3 separate regions of the Homo sapiens genome follow, and regions 2 and 3 are each linked to region 1. The links are contacts of gene promoters, found by promoter capture Hi-C in blood cells and fetal thymus (Javierre and others, 2016). All regions are on one chromosome and are shown on one strand. Each heading gives the region's core, a stretch centred on a gene start or on the middle of the fragment in contact. The rest is flanking DNA. Distances are from core to core; before and after follow the strand shown. Region 1 holds the start of RNF14 (ring finger protein 14). Region 2 has its middle 41 kb from the start of ARAP3. Region 3 has its middle 57 kb from the start of ARAP3.

Region 1 (4,516 bases), core at 891-3,390:
ATTAATGAATGGCTTTGGAGATTCTTCTTCCGTCCTTTGCATTTTTCCGAGATATGTTTCTGGTTTTGGTATCTATTAGAAGGGTATTTTGGTTTCTGTTTTGTGACAATCAAGATTTATAGTACAGAAAATTAGAAGTGATTATTTCTATTTCAAGGTTCTTTCTGTGGCAGCCAGGTAATCCCTTGGGTGCCCTGATTTACTCACTTGGTTTTTTTCTCTCTCCTGGGTATAAGACCAACTACATAATTTACAAAGCCCAGGGCAAAATAAAAATGCAGCCTCTCATTCAGAAATTATTAAGAACTTCAAGAGGGTGAGAGCACAGCATCAAATCAAGAGCAGGGCACTTCTTTTTTATTTTAATTTTTCCATAAGTTATTGGGGTACAGGTGGTATTTGATTACATGAGTAAGTTCTTTAATGGTGATTTGTGAGATTTTGGTGCACTCATCACTCGAGTAGTATACACTGCACCCTATTTGTAGTCTTTTATCCTTCGTCCCCCTCTCATCCTTCCCCCTAAGTCCCCAAAGTCCATTGTATCATTCTTAAGAGCAGGCCACTTCTAAATCTGGGGCCCTTCTAAGTGCAGGGCCCTATGTGACTGCACGGGTTGCTGGCCCATGAATCTAATCCTGCCCGGGAGGCAATGGTGGTAAAAGCTTTAGAATCCTGTAGGCTTGGGTTAGAGTCTTAGCTCTGCAAGTTACTCTTTTGGAGGAAGAAATATATGAAAAAGCGGACACAGGAGCTTATTAGATTGTGAGGAGCACATTAGTTTGATGGGTCCCAGGAGAAGGAGCCAACATTTCTGTATTCCACTTAAGCGCTGAGAACGGTGCTTTGTACCTAAAAAAATTTTTTAATTAAGACATAATTCACATGCAATAAAATTAACTCTTCAAAAGTATACAATCCAGTGGTTTCTAGTACACTCACAAAGTTATACAACTATCACTGCTCTCTAATTCCACAATATTTTCATCACCCAAGAAACACCATATCTATTAGCGGTATCTATTAGCAGTCACTTCCCATTCCCTCCTGCCTTAGTTTCTGGCAACCACTAAACTACTTTTTGTCTCTATGGATTTGCCTATTCTGGACATTTCATATAAATTAAAAACAATATATGGCTTTTTGTGTTTGACTTTTTTTTTTTTTTTTTTGAGACGGAGTCTCGCTGTTACCTAGGCTGGAGTGCAGTGACTCACTGTAACCTCTGTCTCCTGGGTTCAAATGATTCTCCTGCCTCAGCCTCCCTAGTAGCTGGGACTACAGGTGCCCGCCACCATGCCCGGCTTATTTTTTGTATTTTTAGTAGAGACGGGGTTTCACCATGTTGGTCAGGCTGGTCTCGATCTCCTGACCTCGTGATCCACCCGCCTCGGCTTCCCAAAGTGCTAGGATTACAGGCGTGAGCCACCGCACCCGGCCTTCTAAGGGTTTTATAGTTTTAGTTCTTACATTTAGGTCGTTGATCCATATTTAGTTAATTTTTGCATATGGTGTGAGGAAGGAAGTGTATAATTTTAATTCCTGCTTAGCCTGACGATAATCATGTGACCCTTGGTAAGTTCTTGCACCTAAGTCTCAATTTCCTTATTTGTAAAGTGAGAATAACAAATGGTAGCTAAATCATAAGATTACAGTGAAGATAGAAAATTTACGTAGAGCATTTATCACACTGCTTGAAGCATCCTAACTACTCGATAAATGCGGTCGGTGTTACAGTTATAACATGAGCGATGAATGCGTGCTTCCACAGTGGAGTGCCAGAAAGACCGGCAGCATTTCTGAGAAGGTAAACGGGAGGAAGTAGGCTTGCTTAGTCCACTTGGAGAAGCAGGTCTGGGATTGTTGTGAGAGTCTCTGCCCTAGGTAGACCACTGCCTCATGATCCCCTCTAGAGATTGGTAAAAATTCGAATTCTCGGGCCCCATCAGAACTACTGAAAAGAGCCTCCTGTGAGCACAGGGCTCGCAGTAAGTGGGGGTGACGGTGGTCGCGCCGGCAGCGCCGCCTTGGGCCTGCGGGAGGCGCCCGAGAGGCAGGGGCGACCACGGCGGCTGCGCAGAGTCCTCCCTATGCCGGCGGTCGCGCCAGCGGGATCCGCCTGGCTCAGCTGACAGCTCCCGAGAACGGAAGAGGCGGCGCGCCGGTTGAGCAGGGCGTCTCTAGGCCTGGTCGGCTGGCGGCGGTGAGTGGGCCCCAGGCAAGGGCGGAGGGCGGAACTTTGGGGTTCGGCACTGCCGGGCGGCCGGAAGGTACGGTGGGGATAGCTCTCTGGGCGCGCGAGGCAGAGAAGGGGACCGGGCTGGGACTGTACACTGGGCCTCAGTCCCTCAAATCCGGGACCGGGCGTCCGCAGCTCGGCTGGCCGGGACTCCCTTCGGGACGCTGAGGAGGAAGGGGAAGGTGTGGGCCCTGCTCCTTCGGGACGCCCCAGGCTGGCCAGCAGCTCACACATCCGCATTGCGCCCTCTGATCCCAGCGTTGGGGCGGATAGCTAGCGTTGGGCCTGCCCCTGTTTTGGGGCAGTCGCCCAAACGACGCCGCACGCCTAGTGGCGAGCTGAACCCAGACTAGGACACCCGAAGACCAAATGGATAGAGTGAGAAGGAAATGGGGGTTAGCAACCTGAATTGAGGTACTGGATTCCAAGTGACAGCTTCACAAGCTGAAATCTTGTAGGGTAGGTCATGAGGAACTGTTGAAACTGCTTGGAGTAGAAGTTCTTAGCCCTGGCTGCATATTGGAATCACCTGGAGAACTTGGAAAACTACTGAGGCCTGAATTAATTGTTCTAGGGTGTGGCCTGGGTATTGAGATTTTAAAAAACAGCTCCTCAGAAGATTCTAATGTGCAGTCAGATGGAGAACACTAACCTAAAACCATAAACTGCATGAATGAATCTCTCATCCCATTTGCAAATGTTTTAACAGGAAGAAACAAAAAGCTTAATTCAATTAGCACCATATACTCCCACCTAGTAAAATAAGACAATGTGAAAGGACCTAATACAGTACATAGTAGGTGCTCAATTAATGTAAATTGATTCTGAATCTCATTCTTATCTCATTTGGGAGTTACACATCCGAGAATCTGGTTTTTAATTATGGTTTTGTATATAGTATTTTTGCATATAATTTTAGGGTGTTGATAGGATTCTCCGTAGCCCATCTATAGACCACACTCCCTTTTCCCCTCACCCCAGTGAAGAAGCCTAGCTCTAAAGCATTTAGAATAAAACTTAAAAGTTTGTGTTTGTGTACTCTTGTTTTGTTTAAGTATTTTTCTGTTACCAAAATTAACCTTGAGTGCCACTGGCAGGCTTAATTCATGAACAAGAGAGGAAAAACTGGAGGGGAGTGGCAAATGAAGGAATACAAGAAGCAGAAGAGGAAAGGAGAAAAAAACAAAACAAAAAACAAACTGAAGAGATTGTTTGTTATGGGGCATGGTGTCCTGTACTTTCATATGACCTTGGTGTTCCTCCTTAGCTCCTCCCATAGCTGAGGGCAGACAGATAAAAAGTCCTCAGTCATTGCTGGGGACATGCAAATACTCCTTTAACCACATGGCTCAGTTAGCCTGCCCTAGGAGAGTAACATGCACTTGTAGATTAGGATTGGCTATATGTTAGGATATGTTTGACTTAAGCAGTGATCATGGAAATTCAGAATTTTAATTTGGAGAGGGTCCTAACACCATCTTTTGTATTTCTTTTCTGCAGATGGCAGGATTTTCATAATATATGTAGTATGAGTTCCACATCTTGGCCTCTTACCCAGCTTCAGCAGTCTCAGCTCCACCAGTTAGAGAATAAATGGGATTTGCATGAACTCCACTCTGAGCTGAAATACAGACTGCGGTGTTAATATCCTTTTCTTCTGATTGTTATTAACAGGTACTAACTGACCTCAAGTAGAACATGTAATTGTGTCTTAGATAGGGATGCAGCTTAAGCAGAGCCATGAACTAACATCTCCTAGAAAAAAAGTGTTTTTTGAAAATGAAATCATTTTTAATTTCATAGTATGACCTTTTAAAATGTAAAAAATCCTAACTTTTTACTTATGTACATTTTAATTAAAAATATTTTAGTTGTGAGGGAGGATATTTGCAAATGCAATTGTAGTTCAATATTTTAATTGACTGGTAGTTTTGTTTTATTAAAATGATTTTTGTAAATTCTCATTGCATATTTTTTTCACATTTAAATTATCTGAAATTGCTGTATCTTTCAGTTGATGCTATTTTAAAAAACATTGATTCATACTTTATTTTTTGAGACAAGGTCTTGCTCTGTCCCCCAGGCTGGAGTGCAGTGGTGCAAACACGGCTCACTGCAGCCTCAGCATCCAAGGCTCAAGCGATCCTCCTGCCACAGTCTCCTGAGTAGCTGGGACTACAGGCACACACCACCACACCTGGCTAATTTTTTATAGAGACAGGATCTTGCTATGTTGCCAAGGCTGATCTCAAACTGCTGGCCTCAAGTGATCCTCCT
Region 2 (4,516 bases), core at 562-3,061, 250 kb before region 1:
GAAGACTGTAAGGAAATATGTGCCTGAAAATCCAGGAAAAGATGAATAATCAGGCTACAAGATGAGCAGGAACTGCTGTAAATATAGGCTGTGTATCAGTCAGTGTGGGTTACATTATGTTGCAGTAACAAACAGTCCCCAAATCCCTGAGGCCTATGACAAATGTTTATTTCTCCCCTATATTACATATCTGTCATGGGTCAGCTGCAGCTCTGCTCCCCTGCTTTCTTCACTCTGGAGCCCAGGCCAATAGAGGAGCACACTGATTCTTAAAGCTTTCCCTCATATTTTATTGGCCAAAGCAAATCGCATGGCAGGCCTCTCATCAATGGGAAGTATGTTCCACTTTCAGAAAGGGCACCCAAGGGAGGAACAGCAAATATTTTGACCAATAACACAACTTTCCATACACATTGTAACTGAACTAGGTTATTTGAACCTCGGAGTGGCTTAGAGGAAGGACCTTTGGAGGAAGAGGTGGTAGCTCAAGTAATTTAGCTTCTCTCTGTGTCTGCCTCTTCTCCTCTCACCACCCATTTTCTATGTATTGTGGCTTTTGCTTTTGTGTCCCTCTTTTTTTTTTTTTTTTTTTTTTTCTGAGGTGAAGTCTTACTCTGTTGTCCAGGCTGGGGTGCAGTGGTGTGATCTTAGCTCACTGCAATCTCTGCCTCCTGTGCTCAAATTCTCCTCCCTCCTCACCCTCCTGAGTAGCTGGGACTACAGGAATGTGCCATCACACCCAACTAATTTCTTTCTTTTTTTTTTGGAGACTAGAGACTTACTCTGTCACCTAGGCTGGAGTGCAATGGCGTGATCTCGGCTCACTGCAACGTCTGCCTTCCATGTTCAAGTGATTCTCCTGCCTCAGTTTCCCAAGTAGCTGGGATTACAGGTGTGAGCTACCGCACCCGGCTAATTTTTTGTATTTTTGGTAGAGATGGGGTTTTGCCATGTTGGCCAGTCTGGTGTCGAACTCCTGGCCTCAAGTGATCTGCCTGCCCTGGCCTCCCAAAGTGCTGGGATTACAGGCATGAACTGCCACACCTGGCCTGCTTTTCCATCTTGAGATTCCTGTTTCCTCATGACTCTGGCTTCCCCTTATGGTCCTTTTGCCCTCTTTCTCCCTTATGACATTTTACCTTCTGATTTTGCCATTAATTAGCCAGAATTCTTTAGTGTCAATTGCTAGAAACCCAATTCAAAGTAGTTGAAGCAAAAGGGAAAAGAAGAAAATTTTTGGCTCATATATGAAAAATCAAAGGTAGAGCTGGACTTCAGCATGGCTAGGTCTCTGGGCCTTGATAATATTCTTGCCATCTCTCATCTATTCTTTCCACTGTGTTAACTACATCTCTGGGCAGACTTTCCCATCTTGTTGATGGGATGGTTGCTATGGCAGAGGCTCCTGGTTGCCTGACAACAGCTGTTCCCCTTTTCTTCCAATGTGGTAGAATATTTTAGTTGGCAAGATGGCCTTTCTTGCAATTAGTTGTGCTTTAGGACTAAATTCTGGCTAATCATACATGAGCAAAAATGATGTGTGTAACTTTTGGGCTGTTCCCCTAAAAGAAATTGTTGTGCTTCCCCTTCCTTTTTATTGCCTTCTGGCTGGCTGAAATGTGGTCATGGTGGTGGTAAGTGTCACCCCCCAGAGGGGGCAGAGCAACAAAATAGAAGGAGCTTGGGATTCTGAGAACTTTTGTGGAGCAGAACTACTATATCTACTTGAGCTTTTATATGAGAAAGAATTAAATTTTAATCTTGCTTTAGCCCTGTTATTTGGGCCTCTTTGTTACAGTAGCTTGATCAATATCTTAATTAATTCACTTCCCCATCCTGAGCCCATCATTGTGGTGAGAGGATAAAATCTACTGACTGGGTCAGGCCTGGGAATTAGGGTCTTATTGCAGAATCTGGGGTGAGACTACCTCACTTAAACTCTTAGGTGAGACTAGCTCATCTAAACTCTAGGACTGTACCCCAAGGAATATTGGGGTGCTATCACCAGAAAAACATGTGAAATGAGTGCTAGGCAGGCAAAAACAACACATGTCCATCACACCCTGTCAACTCCTCATTCTTCTTATGCTTGCCTGCTTAGATTCCCTAGAAAGACATTAGATTGGCCCAATTCATCTATTTCCTTTCACCAGGCCACTACTTATCTACCAGGTGACAGATAATGGCCCAATCAGCTGTGGCTATGGAGATGGGTCACCTGTGGCTACCTGTTTGGTAGCCGTGGTGGACAGAGTAGACAGCATAATTCACGTGTCTTCAGAGCCCTCTGTCTACTTGCTGTAGTGGGTGGGGTTCATGTTGAGGCCTGGGAGTAATTCAGGAAGTAGACTAGTGTTTTAGTCTGTTCGGGCGGCTATAACAAAATGCCATAAGCTGGGTGGCTTATAAACAACAGAAACTTATTCCTCGCAATTCTGGAGGCTGGGAAGTCCAAGATCAAGGCACCAACAGACTCAGTGGCTGGTAAGCGTTTACTTTGTGGTTCATAGAATGGTGCCTTGTCACTAGTCCTCACATGGTGGAAGTGGCAAAGCAGCTCTCTAGGGCCTCCTTTTTCATTTCTTGTGTGTGTGCTTTTTTTTTAAGAGATAGGGTGTATAAGGCCATTATCTCATTGCCATAAAGAAATACCTGAGACTGGGTAATTTATAAAGAAAAGAGTATAATTGGCTCATGGTTCTGCAGACCTTACAGGAAGCATGATGCTGGCATCTGCTCAGCCTCTGGGAAGGCCTCAGGAAACTTACAATCATGGCAGAAGGTGAAGGAGGAATAGGCACTTCACATGGCCAGAGCAGGAGCAACAGTTGGGGTTGGAGGTGCCACACCCTTTTAAGCAACAGATCTCATGAGAACTCACTCACTATCATGAGAAGAGTACCAAGGGAATGGTGCAAAACTATTCATGAGAAATCCACCCCTATGCTCCAATCACCTCCCACCACGTCCCACCTCCAACACTGGGGATTGCAATTCAACATGAAATTTGGGTGGGGACACATCACCAAACCACATAATTCCACCCCTGGCCCTTCCCAAATCTCATATCTTTCTCATGTTTCTAAATACAATCATGCCTTCCCCAAAGTTTTAACTCATTCCACCATTAACTCAAAAGTCCAAAGTCCAAAGTCTCATCTGAGACAAGGCAAGTCCCTTCTACCTATGAGCCTGTAAAATCAAAAACAGTTTAGTTACTTCCAAGATACAATGGGAGTACAAGCATTGAGTAAACACTCCCATTTCAAAAGGAAGAAATCAGCCAAAAGAAAGGGGCTACAGGCCCCATGCAAGTCTGAAACCCAGCAGGACAGTCATTAAATCTTTAAGCTTCAAAATAATCTCCTTTGACTCCATATCTTACATCCAGGGCATACTGGTGTTAGAAGTGGGCTCCTAAGTTCTTGGGCAGCTCTGCCCCTGTGGCTTTGCAGGGTTCAGCCCCCAAGGCTGCTCTCACAGGCTGGCCTTGAGTACCCGTGGCTTTTCCAGGTACAGGGTGCAAGCTGTCAGTGGATTTACCATTCTGAGGTTTGGAGGATGGTGGCTCTCTTTTCACAGTTCCATTAGGCAGTGCCCTAGTGGGGACTCTGTGTGTGGGTTCCAATGCCTCATTTCCCCTCCACACTGCCCTAGCAGAAGTTCTCCATGAGGCCCCTGAAGCAAGCTTCTGCCTGGGCACCCAAGCTTTCTCATACATCCTCTGAAATCTAGGTGGAGGTTTCCAAGCTTCAACTCTTGCACTCTGTGCACCTGCAGGCTTAACACCACGTGGAAGCTGCCAGAGCTTAAGGCCTGCACCCTCTGGAGCTGCAGACAAACTGTACTTGGGCCCCTTGGAGCAGAGGTTGGACCTGAGTAGCCAGTGTCCTGAGGCTGTGCAGGGGAGTGGGGTTCGTGAGCCTGGCCCATGAAACCATTCTTCCCTCCTAGACCTCAGGGCCTGTGATGGGACAAGCTGCCAGGAAGGTCTCTGAAATGCCTTCAAGGCCTTTCCCCCATTGCCTTGGCTATTAGCTCTTGGCTTGTGTGTGTTTGTGTGTGTTTGTGTGTGTGTGTGTGTGTGTGTGCAATCTCTCTAGCAAGTGGTTGCTCCACAGCCTCCTTGAATTCCTCTCTCAAAAACAAACAAACAAACCAAAAAAAAAACCTTTTCTTTCTCTGTCACATGGCCAGGCTGCAAATTTTACAAACTTTTATGCTCTGCTTCCCTTTTAAATATAAGTTCCAAGTTCAAATCTTTCCTTTGTTCCCACATCTAAGCATAGACTGTTAGAAGCAGCCAAGCCACTTGTTGCTCAACACTTTGCTGCTTAGAAATTTCTTTCTCGGCTGGTTGCAGTGGCTTACGTCTATAATCACAGCACTTTGGGAGGTTAAGGTGGGTGGATTACCTGAGGTCGGGAGTTCAAGACCAGCCTGACCAACATGGAGAAACCCCGTCTCTACTAAAAATACAAAATTAGCCGGCTGTGGTGGCACATGCCTGTAATCC
Region 3 (4,516 bases), core at 1,387-3,886, 230 kb before region 1:
TGACTGTCCAGGCAATAGCAGCCTCCCTCCTTCCCTCTCTACCCCTTCTTCCCAATTTATTTTCTTCACAGTACTTAACAGCATCCGAAGTTATTTATCTGTTCACTTGTTCATTATCTGTTTTGCCCACTAGAACATGAGCTCCTTCAGGGTACAAACTGTGTCTCTTTGGTTCACCATTGTATTCCCAGGGCCTGGTGCTTAATAAGTGCTCAATAAATGTTTGATGAATGAATGACTTCAGAAAAGCTTCACTAGACCCCAAGGGGGCAGTGAGAGGAAGGAGGACAGGCTGGGTAGAGCAGTCAGCTGCTGGGCTGCAGACCACATTGAGGCCTGACCACTGAGGCTCTGGGGTTCATCGGAGAGAGTCCATCTGCCCAGCTGTCATTCTGATCATGAGGTGGCCTGGCCTCCCTTCCAGCACAGCGAACACGTGTGAACACATTTCTTCAGACTTCGAGTGAAGCCAAGTGAAAGGGACAAGGCTGCCTGGTGTTCCTGGACCAGAGATGTATGCCTTTGGGCTCCCTACATGTTCCCAGCCTTTCTTTATTTTGGGTGAGGTTTACGGTGGCTCTGCAGCCCACCCTGCCTGCCCCCAGGGTTGCAGCAGGCATTGCCTGGCAGGGAGAGACTGCTGCTCAAAGAACCCGATCTTTTGCATTCACTGACATTCTTGGATTTGGCATTTACAACCTCAGGGCTCTATTCCGAGGAGGCCTTTTGCATTTGATGTAAATATTATGGTGATGAGAGGTGACACTGAGAATACCCTGTAGGAAATGTAAATCCACCCCCACCAGGCTGGGAGCCTCTCCCCACTGCTGCTTTGGGTTGTTATTCAGGGGACTGATTCCTTCCAGTTCTTGAGTTAACCCACAAGAGCCCGCTTCACGTGTAGGCAGCAGGGTCTAGGAGTAGTACATTAGTTATTTCTCTAATTTGCAGAGGCACATTCATCCATCAATGTGGGATGCAGTGGCAGGGCCAAATGGCCCTGCAGCCATTCATTAAGAGGAGGGATGTCTCCTCCAAGAGGAGGCTTGGGCAGTTAGCTCTGGAGGGGTGGGGTTGGGGGATCAAAGCTAGTAATGGGCACTGTATTCCCAGAAGTCAGCTACTCTCCCAGCTACTTCCTCATTGACTCCCGGTTTCTACTTGTCTCCCAACAGAGTTTAGCCCTGGATCTGTGTGTCACTCTAAGCACTGGGGACCACTTTCAGCTGCAGTGCCCCTTGGTGCCACAATTTTACTCTCTTCCCAAACTCCCAGGGAAATGATGTTCATAATCCCCACTGGCAATCATGGTGGGGTTCTGGGACTGGAGCAGCTGTGCCAAGATGGTTTGCAGGATCAAGGAAAGAGGTAACATCTTTACAATAGTATCTCTTTGATACGCTGTGTGGCTGGGGACAAGTGACTGAATCTCTCTGAGCTTTGGTTTCTATATCCTTCAAATAGGGAAGATAATACCTATGTCATATATGAGGATTACATCGGGTTATGTGAGCGCATGTAAGGGGCCTAACACAGGACTTGACATGCAGTGACTGCTCAAGAAGTAGGGGCAGGTTTTGTTGTTGTTGTTGTTTTGTTTTGTTTTGAGATGGAGTCTCACTGTGTCACCAGGCTGGAGTGCAGTGGTATGATCTCGGCTCACTGCAACCTCCACCTCCTAGTTCAAGCGATTCTACTGCCTCAGCCTCCTGAGTAGCTGGGACTACAAGTGTGCACCACCATGCCCAGCTAAATTTTTGTATTTTTAGTAGAGACGGGGTTTCACCATGTTGGCCAGGATGGTCTCGATCTCTTGACCTTGTGATCTGCCCGCCTCGGCCTCCCAAAGTGCCAAGGGATTACAGGCATGAACCACCGAGCCCGGCTGACGTAGGGGCAGTTATTATTAGGTACAGAGGGCTTGTGAGACATAATGCAGACCAAGGGGCAGATGCTGGCTTGCAAGCCCAGAATTTACACCTTTTTTCCCTAGTTGTGCCATGAACATAATATCTACAGTGACCAGTCATTCAATCAATAAGCATTGATTATTTGGATGTGTAATGAGTGTTTATTATTATCATCAGTAAGCTGGTATAGCATAGAGCTCAGATTCTGGAGTCAGAGAAACACAGTTCAACTCTCAGCTTGGCTACTAAATATTGGACTTTTCTTTTTTTTCTTTTTTTTTTTTTTTAGACAGTGTCTCACTCTGTCACTCAGGGTGGAGTGGTAAGCAGCACAATCACAGGTCACTGCAGCCTCGACTTCTCTAGCTCAGGTGATCTTCCCAGCTCAGCCTCCTGAATAGGTAGGACCACAGGCACATGTCACCATACCCAGCTAATTTTTTGTGTTTTTTGTTTTGTTTTGTTTTTGTTTGTTTGTTTTTTGTAGAGATGGGGTCTTGCCATGTTGCCCAGGCTGGTTTTGAACTCTTGGACTCAAGCAATCCACCCTCTTCGGTCTCCCAAATTGTTGGGATTTCAGGCGTGAGCTACCATGCTCAGGCACTGGACTTTGTTCAAAGTTTTGATTTCTCCATCTCTAAGAAGGAAGTGATAATAGAACCCATGTCAGATGTTGTGAAGATTAAATGGGATAGTGCTTGGCATATAATTGGTTCTTCATGAATGTTACAACAAAACATTTTGTGAGGCTGGGTGCAGTGGCTCACACCTGTAATCCCAGCACTTTGGGAGGCTGAGGTGGGCGGATCACCTGAGGTCAGGAGTTTGAGACCAGCCTGACCAACATAGTGAAACCCTGTCTGTACTAAAAATACAAATTAGCCGGGTGTGGTAGTGCATGCCCATAATCCCAGCTACTTGGGAGGCTGAGGCAGGAGAATCACTTGAACCCAGGAGAAGGAGGTAGCAGTGAGCTGAGATCGCACCATTGCACTCCAGCCTGGGCAACAGGAACGAAACTCTGTCTCAAAAAAAAAAAAAAAATTGTGAGGTGTAAGAGGAGACTCTGGATTTGAAATAAAAGATCTGGGTTTGGCCGGGCATGGTGGCTCACACCTGTAATCCCACCACTTTGGGAGGCCGAGGCGGGCGGATCATGAGGTCAGGAAATCGAGACCATCCTGGCTAACATGGTGAAACCCTGTCTCTACTAAAAATGCAAAAAAATTAGCCGGGCGTGGTGGCAGGCGCCTGTAGTCCCGGCTACTGGGGAGGCTGAGGCAGGAGTATGGCATGAACCTGGGAGGTGGAGCTTGCAGTGAGCGGAGATCACGCCACTGCACTCCAGCCTGGGCAACAGAGCGAGACTCCTTCTCAAAAATAAAAGAAAAGAAAAAGAAATAAAAAGATCTGGGTTCAATCTACTTCCATCCCCTATTTATTTACTGTGCCATCTTGGGCAAATCACTTCACCTCTATTTTCCAATCTACAGACAGGATACAATGTCACCTAGTTTCAGATTGCCATGAAGAAACCTTAACATTTGGCATGGAGGGGAAGCTCACTATTTATGTAATAAATGAACAAATGAATGAGGTAGAAAGATTTTAGGATCTGGATTCAGAGAATTTGCATTGGCATCCCAGGTTTATTGTTTACTTTCTGTGTAATGGAGGACAAGTGACTTCACCTCTCTGAACCTTGGGTCCTCTCAGTATAAAACAGGGTAATATCTATCCCCAGCATTATTGTAGAATTAAATTAGACAGTTAATATTAAAATACCTTGTAAACCACAGGGCACTGTGCTCGCTCTAGTTTAATATTACTTTGTGCAGAGCCCTGGGCAAAGAGCTATGAGGGCTCCAAAGATATGCAAAGTCCTTGCTCCTAGCCCTAGAGGAGCTATGATAGACTTGAGAAAGGAAGGCATGAAATGGGGGGCAGAGCTACACAGAGATTTCCACCCATTCATTGATTGCACACATATTTACAGAGTGCCTTCCAAACACTAGGCATGAAAGGTCTCCTGGAGATATTAGGTTAGGCCAGATGGAGGGGCCTTGAACGCCAAGGTAAGGCCTTTGGATTGACTGTTCCATGGGTAGAGGTTTCGGAAAGTTCACATGTCATCTATGCTCCTGAGTTCGCTTGTGAACCAGGACTCTGGCTTGCTGAGTCACTTCCCTCAGTCACTCTCTGAGGGCCAAATGTGCACAGTCCATTGTAAGGAGAGCATTTAAATTAGCCATTCAGTGGGTGGCCCCTCCTCAAAGGTCAGTGGCCTATCTGGCCACCACAGCTGGCGGCCACAAAAGACCTGCCGAGAATCCTGCCGAGAATCCAATCTAATGGAGTGGTAAAGGCTCAAGCCACTCTTCCTGGGAGTGGGAGGGTGAGTTGCAAGGTGATTTTGCTGCTGTCACAGTCTCCCTTTAGACACGGCCTGTCCTCGAGGGCAAAAATAGCAGCTTTAGAGGCAGGAGAGTTTTGTGACATCATCCCCAGGTTCAGCCAGCAAACCTCACTCCAGCCAGTAGATCTTGTTTGCCCCTCGGAGATTTATGCCAAGGTCCTAAGGGACAACTTTGGTGGCCCTGGGGCTC

The links. The method cuts DNA at HindIII sites, captures the fragments that hold promoters and counts their contacts. A CHiCAGO score of 5 or more calls a contact.
Region 2: a fragment that was not itself captured here is called in contact with the fragment with the promoter of RNF14 in region 1 in 1 of 17 cell types (endothelial precursors); the score reaches 5.4 in endothelial precursors.
Region 3: a contact is called between a fragment that was not itself captured here and the fragment with the promoter of RNF14 in region 1, in 1 of 17 cell types (endothelial precursors). The highest score is 5.6, in endothelial precursors.

Annotation. Positions count from the first base shown.
Region 1 is chr5:141,966,965-141,971,480 of GRCh38, forward strand. It overlaps RNF14 (ring finger protein 14), which reads left to right and starts at 2,141. Exons shown (of 9, transcript NM_004290.5): 1 at 2,141-2,203; 2 at 3,740-3,913. LOC124901095 (a long non-coding RNA gene) reads right to left here and starts at 2,816. Exons shown (of 3, transcript XR_007058977.1): 1 at 2,644-2,816. RefSeq lists a silencer at 1,924-2,063 and an enhancer at 2,174-2,323. The HindIII fragment of the contact is 2,297 bases long and covers 664-2,960 here.
Region 2 is chr5:141,721,054-141,725,569 of GRCh38, forward strand. No RefSeq gene overlaps it. Among named protein-coding and RNA genes, the nearest start is that of ARAP3, 41 kb to the left of the region's middle. The HindIII fragment of the contact is 3,076 bases long and covers 274-3,349 here.
Region 3 is chr5:141,736,941-141,741,456 of GRCh38, forward strand. No RefSeq gene overlaps it. Among named protein-coding and RNA genes, the nearest start is that of ARAP3, 57 kb to the left of the region's middle. The HindIII fragment of the contact is 4,778 bases long and covers 248-4,516 here.